Regions from separate parts of the Homo sapiens genome. Here regions 1 and 3 are each linked to region 2. The links are contacts of gene promoters, found by promoter capture Hi-C in blood cells and fetal thymus (Javierre and others, 2016). All regions are on one chromosome and are shown on one strand. Each heading gives the region's core, a stretch centred on a gene start or on the middle of the fragment in contact. The rest is flanking DNA. Distances are from core to core; before and after follow the strand shown. Region 1 overlaps GOLGA3 (golgin A3). Region 2 holds the start of ZNF891 (zinc finger protein 891). Region 3 holds the start of GOLGA3 (golgin A3).

Region 1 (3,669 bases), core at 444-2,943, 360 kb before region 2:
CTGAAAATACAAAAATTAGCCGGGCGTGGTGGCGGGAGCCTGTAAGCCCAGCTACTCTGGAGGCTGAGGCAGGAGAGTCACTTGAACCTGGCAGGCAGAGGTTGCAGTGAGCTGAGATCGAGACACTGCACTCCAGCCTGGGCAACAAGAGTGAAACTCCGTCTCAAAATATATCTATTTCATGTGAAGGTGAAATCCAACCCCGACGATGTGTAGAAAAGCCCAGCAATCTCCCGCAAATCCCTGAGCCGATGGCCGCGGAGATGGGTGTCCTGGTGGTGCTCCCAGAGCTGCCTCCCCAGGTGCCACCAGGACATGCTGCCTTTGGGGCTAGAGGTTCCCACCTCATCAGTAACGAGGGCATCGCCAGCCCTCAGCTGCCTTGGGCGCCCACAGTCGGCTTTCACGCCTCCCAGAGGTTCCGCCACCTTCAGCCCTCACTTCAGATGGAGTCAGAACTTAGAGATGTGGACACTGTGAAGGTCACCGGCAGCCAGTGGTGGAGCCGGGGGAAGGGTGTAGGACGCCCCCACACACAGGTGAAGAGGGCACTGCCAGGGGGAGGGCTGTAGGACACCCCCACACAGAGGTGAAGAGGGCACTGCCAGGAGGAGGGCTGTAGGACGCCCCCACACACAGGCGAGCAGAGGGCGTTGCAAACATGGGCAGAGGCGGCCCAGCAGCAGTTTAACATTGCCCTGTGTCCAGGAGAAAGGCCACTGCCCAAGTATGCTCTTTATCGCAACCTGCAACATTCCCCCTCAGACGGAAGCTTGTGTAGAGGCCGCCAAGTTCCAACAAATGCTCCCGACTGTAGACGCCACCAAGTGCTGGGACTTGCTCTCGTCATCTGGGAAAGGCTTGGGGACGCTGCCAGCAACTGTCATGTTTATCCATCAAGCTAGACGGCGGAAGTGCAGTCGTCTTAGTTTCCCCCATTATCTGCTTCCTGCTTTTTTTTTTTATCTCGAGTCTCAACTTTGTTGCCCAGGCTGGAGTGCAACGGCACGAACTCCACTCACTGCAGCCTCCACCTCCCGGCTTCAACAATTCTCCTGCCTCAGCTTCCTGAGTAGCTGGGATTACAGGCGCCCATCACCACGCCCGGCTAATTTTTGTATTTTTAGTAGAGATGGGGTTTCACCATGTTAGCCAGGCGGGTTTCAAATTCCTGATCTTGAGTGATTCACCCGCCTCAGCCTCCCAAAGCGCTGGGATTACAGGCATGAGCCACTGTGCCTGGCCTGCTTCCTAATACTACCCGAGGTCTCAGATTTCTGAGTGACCTGGTAATTTTTAAATCCTGAGTCTCCTTCATGCCTGTAATCCCAGCACTTTGGGAGGCCGAGGCGGGCGGATCATGAGGTCAGGAGATCGAGACCATCCGGGCCGACACGGTGAAACCCCGTCTCTACTAAAATACAAAAAGAAATTAGCCGGGCGTGGTGGCGGGAGCCTGTAGTCCCAGCTACTCAGGAGGCTGAGGCAGGAGAATGGCGTGAACCTGGGAGGCGTAGCTTGCAGTGAGCCGAGATCGCGCCGCCGCACACCAGCCTGGGCCACAGAGTGAGACTCCGTCTCCAAAAAAAAAAAAAAAAAAAAATCCTGAGCCTCCCATCAGCGATACGTCCTCTGTCCTACACTCAACCCAAATTCCTGACAGTACCTGCCGCCACTCTAAGCCAGGAAGAAGTGACCCATTCATCTCTGCCAAAACCACTCCTGACACCCACTGCTGAGCTCTGTAGCAGGACGCAGCGTGGAGCTTCGAGCTGCTGAGACAGACACAGCTTAAAATATACCTGTCAGTGCAGTGCCTGCAAACACGTAGCAACTCCATGGAGAAAAGGAAAAAGTTCAGATACATACATGTCCCCTTAAGGGTTCTATAGACCAAAAAAAATTATATCCTTAATATTTCAGAAAGTTAAGGCCACAGAAGGTGGTCAGGGAATTTTTACTCTGTGTAGCAATTCTCTGGGTACAGAAGCTGGTAACGCTCACAGGAAGAAGTGCATTAATCCCACAGGGCCAAGCCCAGCGACCACCACTTCCTGCCCCTTTTCTGTACTTTTTAAACCATGGTGGCCTCTAATAACGTCTAACTGAAAACTCTGTACCTGGTTAACTCTTTTTTTTTTTAGACGGAGTCATGCTCTGTCACCCAGGCTGGAGTGCAGTGGTGTGATCTCGGCTCACTGCAACCTCTGCCCGATCAAGCGATTCTTCTGCCTCAGCCTCCTGACAAGTGGGGATTACAGGCGCCCGCCACCACGCCCTGGCTAATTTTTTGTTTAGTAGAGGTGGAGTTTCACCATGTTGGCCGGGCTGGTCTTGAACCCCTGACCTCAGGTGACCACCCCCTCCCAGCCTCCCAAAGTGCTGGGATTACAGGCGTGAGCCACCACACCCAGCTTACGCCTGGTTAACTCTTAATGACCAAAATCAAAGTATGGATGAAAAAGACGAGAATCTGGGAAGTCACATTGCTGAGGTCTGAGAGTCATGACTCCACTGTCACCGGGGAGGCCCAGCAGAGGGCAGCACCTGGATGATGAGACCCAGTTCAGGAGGCGCAGCACAGAGCGGTCACCATCCTTCCCCGGTTCACCGGGAAGCTTGCTCCCCCTCCTTCTGTATTCCTGGCAAATGACAACGGGCAAAGCGAAGCGTGGGCCAAGGACGGAGGAGGCGGTGCCGCGCGTCTGCCGTGGTCACAAGCCACAGAAGTTTGCTTCACTCCTGCCAGAAACCGGCAGGACAGTAGAATTCTCTTTTAAAGCACGTGTTGAACAGAGTGTGTAATAACATGAGATTAAAAAGTTACTGCCAAACGACAAAATATAACTATTAAAATGAAGCTTCCAATGAATATGAAAATCTTTACCAAAAAATAGTTTATTGCACAAAATTTAAGGAATTCCCAAGCACACTTACATTTGTAAAAAATCAACGTGCTTTTTAAAGTTACACTTTGTCAGACACGGTGACCCCTTTCCCAAGAACAGCCACAACTTGAGGACTCTCTTTTGTGAGGAAATTTTTAATAAAAACAAGTAACTCAAAAGCACTGAATTTTCCAGACCCTCTAACACATTTCCCTCCGGATCCTGTGAGAGCCTGAGATCACTTATGACGAGATTCACCTGGACCTTCCGGTCAGTGAGCTCAGAACACCTCACACCACAGCGTCACTCAACTCAAGTCCCTCCTCACATCAGAGGGCTCCTCGAAGGGAGGCCCCAGGACGGTTCTCTCAGATTTGCTGGTCCCTCCCCTCCTAGAATCTTCACGTACAACATTCTGTTTTTGTTTTTAAAGACCTCAGGGAACTAGAACTCGGTTGTGGGAACCCTGCACCAAGGAGAGTTGAGGGCCAGCTCCTTAGCGCAGCACAGCACGGACTGTGTTCTGGTGGGCAGGGCCCCTGCTGGACCCACCCGAGGAGAGTCCATTTCACATCCTATCAGAAACACTGCCTGATCCATATTGCAGAGAGTGGGAACGGGTGTGAGTCCGTAAGACCCGTAGCATCAATCTCACATATACCACGGAAAAACACATGAAAACCAAGTTACGTTGTTTTTGGAACATCAGAAAAACAAGTAGTGACATCGTGAAGTGCCCTAGCCTGTTGTGACACACGGTGTGGGGATGAACACGCCGCCC
Region 2 (3,906 bases), core at 989-3,488:
TATAATATTTGTAAAATAATTACATTGTGATTTAAGGATGTAGAAAGAAGGCAGCCAAAGTTCTTATTTAACATGATAAAAATTTTAAAATAATGTCACAAATCGGTGAATAAAAAAATACTGAGAGGAGTTCGAAGCCAGAACTGCTTAAATATTTCCAAGTGGTTGCCACTGGGAAGAGATGGGGTTAAGGTGTTTCCTGTTTTTATTATGAGTCTTTTAACATATTCAGCTCTTAAAAATGTACACACACATTTCTTGGAGCACAAATAAAGAGTAGTAAATTAATTACCCAGTCAAATCAAGAAGCAGATGGCCAGGCACGGTGGCTCACGCCTGTAATCCTAGCACTTTGGGAGGCCAAGGCGGGCGGATTGCCTGAGCTGAAGAGTTCGAGACCAGCCTGGGCAACACCGTGAAACCCCGTCTCTACTAAAAAATACAAAAAATTAACCGGGCATGGCAGTGTGCGCCTGTGATCCCAGCTATTCCAGAGGCTGAGGCAGGAGAATGGCTTGAACCCGGGATGTGGAAGTTGCAGTGAGCAGAGATCCTGCCATTGCATTCCCGCCTGGGCGAGAGAGAGAGACTCTGTCTCAAAAACAAACAAACAAACAAAAACAAAAATTAGCTGGATTAGCCGGGCGTGGTGGGGCCTGAGGCAGGAGAATCGCTTGAATCCGGGTGGTAGAGGCTACAGTGAGCCGAGATCACGCCACTGCACTCCAGCCTGGAGACAGAGTGAAACTCTGTCTCGAAAAAAAAAAAAAAGTAGAAAAACAGAGACAAAGTAAAAGAAAAATTTAAAAATTAAGAGCAAAACTTACTGTAATAGGACCCCCCTCCCCAAAAAAGACCAAAACAAAACAACAAAAAAACCAAAACCAAATCTACATTTTTGAAAAGACTATGTACACATATACCTTATAGGAGTAATCAAGAAAAAAAGGCCTAGATAATTAGGTTCAAAAAAGAAAAAAATAACAATTACAGCAGTAAAATATTAAAAAGTGGTGATTTTAAAAATCACCATAGAAATTACTTACAGTGATAAAATAGCATGGGCAATTTTATGCCAATAAATTTGAAAAATTAGATTAAAAACAATTATCTAGGAAAGGTATCTAAAACAGAATACGAACTAAAAAACCTAATCAATGAGACTTTTTAAAAAATTGAGTCAGGGCCGGGTGCGGTGGCTCACGCTTGTAATCTCAGCGCTTTGGGAGGCCGAGGCAGGCTGATCACCTGAGGTCGGGAGTTCCAGACCAGCCTGACCAACATGGAGAAACCCCATCTCCACTAAAAATACAGAATTAGCTGGGCGTGGTGGCTCATGTCTGTAATCCCGGCAACTCACAAGACTGAGGCAGAAGAATCACTTGAACCCGGGAGGCGGAGGTTGCTGTGAGCCAAGATGGCGCCATTGCACTCCAGCCTGGGCAACAAAGAGCGAAACTCTGTCTCAAAAAAAAAAAAAAAAAAAATTGAGTCAGAAGTTAAATGCGTACTAAATATTTTAAGACCAAATAGCACCAAACTTTTGGAGGCGGGCGGGGGGCGGTGAGGGGTGGTGACCTGTTTTACAGAATAGAAGAGAGACTGTGCTGTCCAAATTATTCATGAAGCTTGTAAAATCTTGTTAGTATAACGGGCAAGGATAGTACACAAAAAGATTAAAACACAATCTTGTGAGCATAGGTGAAGTCAAAGGGAAACAGCCAATTGAATACACCAGAGTATTAAAGAAATAAAACCATATCGCATTCAACCACAGTATAAGGCAATAGGTGAAAAAAACGATGGCTGTGATTCAACTCATTACTAGGTTTAGAGATTCAAGAGAGGCTGCTGGACAGAGGCGTGCACCCTTTAGCCCTCCCGTGTTGCTTAGAGAAGGAGGCAAACGCGCATCCCCGGCCCCCCAGCGCTCCCTGCGTGGCACCCGCAGCCAGCCCGGGACCCCTCCGCCCCGCGCGCCCCTGGTCCCCACTCGCTCCCCGCGCTCCACTCGCACCCGGTAAGTAGCCCCTCCTCCCTCAAGGGCCTCTCCCACCGCCGCCTCCCGGGCAGGCTCCCTGCTGCTCAGACTCCCGTGAGGCGATCCCTGCACGCAGGAGAACTCAGCGGGCCAGGCTGATCCCACGAGGGACTTGTCCCGGGTGAACGAGCCACAGGCCCGCATGCTCACCCGTCCTCAGTGCCTGCCTCCAGGCGTCCGCGGTCCCGCCCGAGGGGGACGCGAGGCCGAACTACGTTTCCCAGGAGCTCCTGCGCCGCCCCGCAGAGGGGCCTGGTCTGTGCGTCACGGACGCGCTCTGGGCCGAAGGCCCGCAGGGTCCGGCACAGAGTGGCGGCTGCGGCGCCGGCGACGAATCGCCGGCTCTAGGGTCCCGGGGCGCGCGGCTGACGGGCTGGGGGCGGAGCGTGGCCTGAACGCCAGGCTGGGGCGCGTGCGTAACGGTGTGTGTTGTGGGTGCGTGTGCGTGCGTTCGCAGCAGGGGCGGGCGTAGGACCAATGGGGGCGGGGCGCGTGCGCGTGCGTGACGTCAGGCCACGGGGAGGTGGCGCCGCCGTGCCGAGCCGGCCTCAGACTCACCTCTGACGCCGCTCTTCGCGCTCCGCTGGTGAATGGAGTCGCGTTCTCTGTTTTGCTGTTGCTGCTGCCTTTGTGACGGGATCGCTTTCTCCCATCGAACCTTCTAGTTGCTTATTGCAGGTATATACGAAAGTGCTGAATTTTGTGTTTGCATCGTCATCAGGCGCGTGTTGAGCCCTTTAGTAATGTAGCAGTGTATTAGCTTCGTATTTCTAGGTAGACGGTAATTTCGTCAATGAAAAAATTTAACGGTGATCGTCACCCCTTGCCTCAGTCACTTTCTGTCCCTCGCGCGGCCCCGGCGTTCACGGCGGACGTTCTTGTTCTGTGGAGAATAACGGCTGCACCTGGAGATTGACGCAGAGTGGGCGGCGGTGGTGGTAAGTTTGAACCAGATATTTTCAGTAATACAAAATAAGGTTTCTTCTAGTCTAACTTCCATTTTTCCCCCCAGCTGGGATAGATGTTTAAAATTTTGCATATGGCCTTTCTAGTATTTGTTGAAATAGTGACGCCGATTCGTGTGTGGTCTTTTAAAAACAAATCCTGCATCTCTAGCTCTTAGCTTCCTCATCTTTGTTTTGTTTTTTAATCAGATAGATTAACTGAAGGCGTGTTTGTGTGGTTAATCTATTTTTTTTATTTTCAGAGACAGATCATAAGTTTAATTACTATATTTTTATTTTCCCTTGACACTAGATATATATACGCCATCTAACACATAATATGAGTGTCAAAGATAAGGTTAACATCAAGATTTCGTACGTAGATCCCACCCAAAGTGTATGCAGAAGGTGAACAATTTCAATTCCAGCTATACATTAATTGCAGAAAGATACTGTTAATTAAAAAAAAAAAAGTAAAAGGGAAGGCAGGATGTCACCCAGAATGCCAGCCAACAAGTGTTATTAGGTTAGAAATGACTGCAGTTAGGTCTCCGAGAACTGGATAGCACAAATCCTCCCTACCCTTTTGAAAATTACCTCCACACTAACTTTTCTCTTGTGACATAACTAATCTCTTCTGTTTTACTAAAATTGTCCCCCATCTTCCAAAGCCTCTTGGATGGTAAGTTGCACACGCTCCTGCCTCTTTTTGAAAGTTACATTTGTTTTTTGATTACTTCTCTCAGCATGCATTTCTTTAGCTCTTAGTATATGCTAGTCACAAGGGCAGAGATTTGAGATACACATCATAAATTAAATGAGAATTTCTGCTTATCAGTATTTTATATAAGCACTGTCTGGAAATTCTACTTAGGACAATATTTAAGTAGATATGAGGCTTACCTTCTGGAAAAGAGATTA
Region 3 (3,886 bases), core at 1,286-3,785, 300 kb before region 2:
CAGCAGGACTGGACTCAGCCATTACAGGTGGAACATGCAGAGGAGAACTGCTGCAGAGGAGAACTGCTGCAGAGGCCCACAGTGACGACGCCTGGGCCTTACACTGACCAAGAAGGAACACAGCCAAAGACGCTCAGGTTCCACCGAGAGGGCACGCCAACATGGTGACAGCCAACCGCACCGAGCTGAGTCCAGTGCAATCACAGATTCTGCTCACTTAATTCCCCTGCTGGTGTCCAAGCAGCCCACCTCTCCAGAACAGAGACCCCATGACGGTGACTGTAAGTCACAAAGACGGCCCCTCTTTACAGGCAGCTCCTCCTGAAGCCGGACCAGAGAGAGAATTCACTAACTGCCTGGAGTTTGGTGACAGTGATACTTCTCCCTGTAGGGCAATAAGCTGGCAGTCTCGGTCGATTCCCAGTCTTGCTTGATTTTTAGTTAAAATTTGGAATGACTCAGTCGTCAGGGCCTCATTACCTCAGACTACTGACAAAAAGCGATCTCCGGGCAGCGAGGAGGAGGAGCAACTGCCAGTGCATCACAGAAAGCTGGTACTACAAACATGGCTCTATTTTAAATAAAGAGGCCAGTCTAATCAGTCTCACTTATGATCACTCGCACTCCTGCGTCTCTAGAGAGAAGAGACAGGACAAAGCTGTCACTTAGAACTGCGAAAGGTACACACAACCCTAGGTTCACAGCTGGGTAACATCAAGGGACTTCATACTGAGAAACCACCACCTCAGGCACCTACAGGACTTTCTGCTTCCCCCACACCTGAATTCTGTATACAAACATTCACGGCTCCATCTACACCACCTCGTTTCACCTGTTCCTATCGGGTATTAGAAACAACAGAGCACAGCCAAAAACCAAACACGATTTCCTCAGGAAAAGAGTACCTGGTGGAGGCCACACTAGTATCCAAAAGTAAACACAGATCTATACACAAAGTGAAAACCAAAAGCAAGCAAGCCTCATGTCACTGCAGAGACGTGAAGGGCAGGCTTGGAAGTCAGGACTCCGGCCTCAGCTCCCGACCCTCCACCACTTACCTGTGAGAGCCTGGGCTAAAGATTTCTTAATCACATTTAGCCTGTTTCCTCACCAGTAAAACAATGAGAAAATGAACGCAAAATTTTGCCAGGATTAAATATAACAAGGCACAGAGTCTGTCCCGTGTCCTCAATAAAATGACAGTAATTATCACGATTTTCCCTTTAGTTGTTGCTTGTCAAAATCGCTAAAAGCCAACTGAAGGCATTCTCACTTGGGAAAGTATGCTACTTCTTAAGGCAATCGGGGGAAAAAAAGCTCCTCTTCAATCTGAGTGATGTCAGATGATTTATTTCCTTCTTGCCATTTAAGGTATACTGCCTGAAAAGATATTAAAGGGTTATAAAGCGCTATGTTGATGTCGTTTAAAAGACAGTTCAAAATAATCCACGACGACGGGTGTGGCTGCTCACACCTGTAACACCAGCACTTTGGGAGGCTGGGGTGGGAGGATCGCTTGAGGCCAGGAGTTCCACACCAGCCTGGGCAATACAGCAACACACCCAGTCTCTTAAAAAAAAAAAAAAAATCCATGAGTCATCTGTAAATGGCTTACACTGGCCCAGTGACAATAAACTCCAACCTCTTAAGAATCCAGCACCTGCCTACACCAACATCCTTACCGCCATCGCTTTCCCCCTTTGCCATTACACTGTGGCCACATCCTCCGCCCTCAGGGTCTTCAAACTTTCTGCCTGAGGCGCGCTTTTCTCACAATTTTGCCTGGCTTGCTTCTCGTCATAGAGGCCTTAGCACGGAAGTCGCCCGCCCCCCAGGCTCCCACTTAGAGTAGCGGACCCCACCCAACCACCGCCCGGTACCCTCTCGCTGGCGACCCTGGGTGTCCCTGTCCTAGGTGGGCTCCGCGGGGGCAGTGACCCAGACCCACAATACCCAGGACCCGCCACACGACTGACATTCGTCGGGTTCATACCCGTGACAACGCCCGGCCCCACTCGCTCTGGCCACCTGGAATGAAGACAAGTCGGCCAGCGACAAAGACAAACAAGGAAGTACACGGACTCCTGAAACCCCGACTTCCCACGAACCACCCGACACCATGTCACGCCTTTCAGCTGCAAAGGGCCAGGCTAAAGCAAGCACTGCCCGAGTGGTGGCAGTGGACAGCTTCGGGACAGGCCGCGCTCGTCGGGCGCAGACAAGCATTCAGGAGGGCTCGCGGGCACCGGCATTTACAGAGCCAGCTCCGCCGCAGCTGAAGGCGGGCGCCCAGGCCCGAGGCCACCGCAGCGAGGCGGGGGTGACTGGAACGGGGCCGTCCCGCCACGCTGCAGGGACGCGCCCAGGCCCCGCCGCCGCCCCTCGAGCCTCCCCCGCCCATGCACTGCGGGAGCGGGAGCGGGAGCGGGAGCCCGAGCCCCGAGGCGCCGCGGCCTCCGAGCCCCTCACCCTGCTGCTCTGGCAGCCCCGGAGGCCGCCCGGCCCGGATGCTCCGGCGGAGACGTGGCCGTGAGAGGGGCGGGGCGAGCGGTGCATCGGCCTCGGGTCCCCGGAAACAGCCTGCACGCGCTACTTTCGTTCCGGAACAGAGAACGTCCTCCTCTTCTTCAAGTGGCCACCCTAGGGCCGGGGACCCTCTGCCCACAGGGTCCGGATCGAGCTCACCTCCGACTGTGATGAGGCCGCCTTCAGAAAGTGACCTTAAGAGTTTGCGGACCTTTCCCTAGTAGAAACGCAACTTCCGGAACTGCAGGACCAACTCTTTCAGGAAGCTGAACCGAGCTTCCGGCGGAAGTGGCGTGGCCGGGGCTCGGCATGGGCGCGGCCGAGCTCGGTGTGGGCGTGACTTCCCCGCCCGCCCTAGTCGGGTCCCCGCCCCAACCCCGCACCTCCACCCGGCCGGCGCCCTTCGCGCTTCAGGTGCCAGATCAAAGGCGACGCTGCTTTGGACCCTATTTGCTTCCCCTTTAAAAAGGGCAAAGCTGGACGGCGCGGGCCGCTGGCCGCTGGGGAACGGCTTTCCACCTTCCCTCATCCGCCAGGCCGCTCTTCCAGCTGTCAGGAAGGAAATGGCCTGGAGGGCGCCTCGGGGTCCTCTGTGATGTTGCGCTCATCTCTGCGGATTTTGGAATACGCTTCAGTCTACGAAGTTTTCTGGGATTTTGATGGGAACTGCTGCAGATCGTTTGGGGAGCACGGGCATCGCTGACTCGGTCCTTCATCTGCGTCCCTGGTGGCCCCTCCATTTATTTCGGTCTTTTGATTTCTTCCACCAGCATTTTGTAATTTCAGCATACAGATTCTGCACCTTTTAAGTTTATAGTATTTCACATCAAACAACTGTAACACTGCGTTTTTGACGTTTTCCACGTGTTCACTGTTGGTCTACACAAATGTGATGAATTCTATGTTGATTTTCTTATCCTGAGACCTCGCTGAACTCATTAGTTTGAGGGTTCATTTGGTGTTTTGCGGTTGTTGTTGTAAAATCCTTGTATTTTTTACATGGGCCATCATGTTATCTGCAAATGCAAATTCTAACACAAAATGATCAGACTGAGGCGTAAAATATACAACTTTTAGAAGAAAACAGAATTTCTCACATCTAGAGCTTGGGGAAGAGTTCTTAGATCTGACCAAAAAAACACAATTCACAAAAGAAGTTGATAGAGTAAACTTCATGAAAAAATTAGAAACTTTTCACCGGATGCGGTGGCTCACGCCTGTAATCCCAACACTTTGGGAGGCCAAGGTGGGCGGATTACCTGAGGTCAGGAGTTTGAGACCAGCCAGGCCAAATGGTGAAACCCATCTCTACTAAAAATATAATAATTAGCCGGGCATGGTGGCATGTGCCTGTAATCCC

The links. The method cuts DNA at HindIII sites, captures the fragments that hold promoters and counts their contacts. A CHiCAGO score of 5 or more calls a contact.
Region 1: a contact is called between a fragment that was not itself captured here and the fragment with the promoter of ZNF891 in region 2, in 2 of 17 cell types (erythroblasts and fetal thymus). The highest score is 5.8, in erythroblasts.
Region 3: a contact is called between the fragment with the promoter of GOLGA3 here and the fragment with the promoter of ZNF891 in region 2, in 1 of 17 cell types (neutrophils). The highest score is 5.6, in neutrophils.

The regions. Positions count from the first base shown.
Region 1 is chr12:132,766,034-132,769,702 of GRCh38, forward strand. It overlaps GOLGA3 (golgin A3), which reads right to left. Exons shown (of 24, transcript NM_001389683.1): 24 at 2,881-3,669. Among named protein-coding and RNA genes, the nearest start is that of ANKLE2, 6.0 kb to the left of the region's middle. RefSeq lists enhancers at 1,830-1,879, 1,990-2,039, 3,508-3,669 and a cis regulatory region at 3,593. The HindIII fragment of the contact is 1,846 bases long and covers 771-2,616 here.
Region 2 is chr12:133,128,036-133,131,941 of GRCh38, forward strand. It overlaps ZNF891 (zinc finger protein 891), which reads right to left and starts at 2,239. Exons shown (of 2, transcript NM_001277291.2): 1 at 2,192-2,239. ZNF10 (zinc finger protein 10) reads left to right here and starts at 2,592. Exons shown (of 5, transcript NM_015394.5): 1 at 2,592-2,719. RefSeq lists silencers at 1,855-2,034, 2,405-2,644 and an enhancer at 2,695-2,974. The HindIII fragment of the contact is 7,004 bases long and covers 1,627-3,906 here.
Region 3 is chr12:132,826,334-132,830,219 of GRCh38, forward strand. GOLGA3 (golgin A3) reads right to left here and starts at 2,536. Exons shown (of 24, transcript NM_001389683.1): 1 at 2,470-2,536. RefSeq lists silencers at 1,814-1,913, 2,414-2,473, 2,844-3,053 and an enhancer at 2,624-2,763. The HindIII fragment of the contact is 8,970 bases long and covers 1-3,886 here.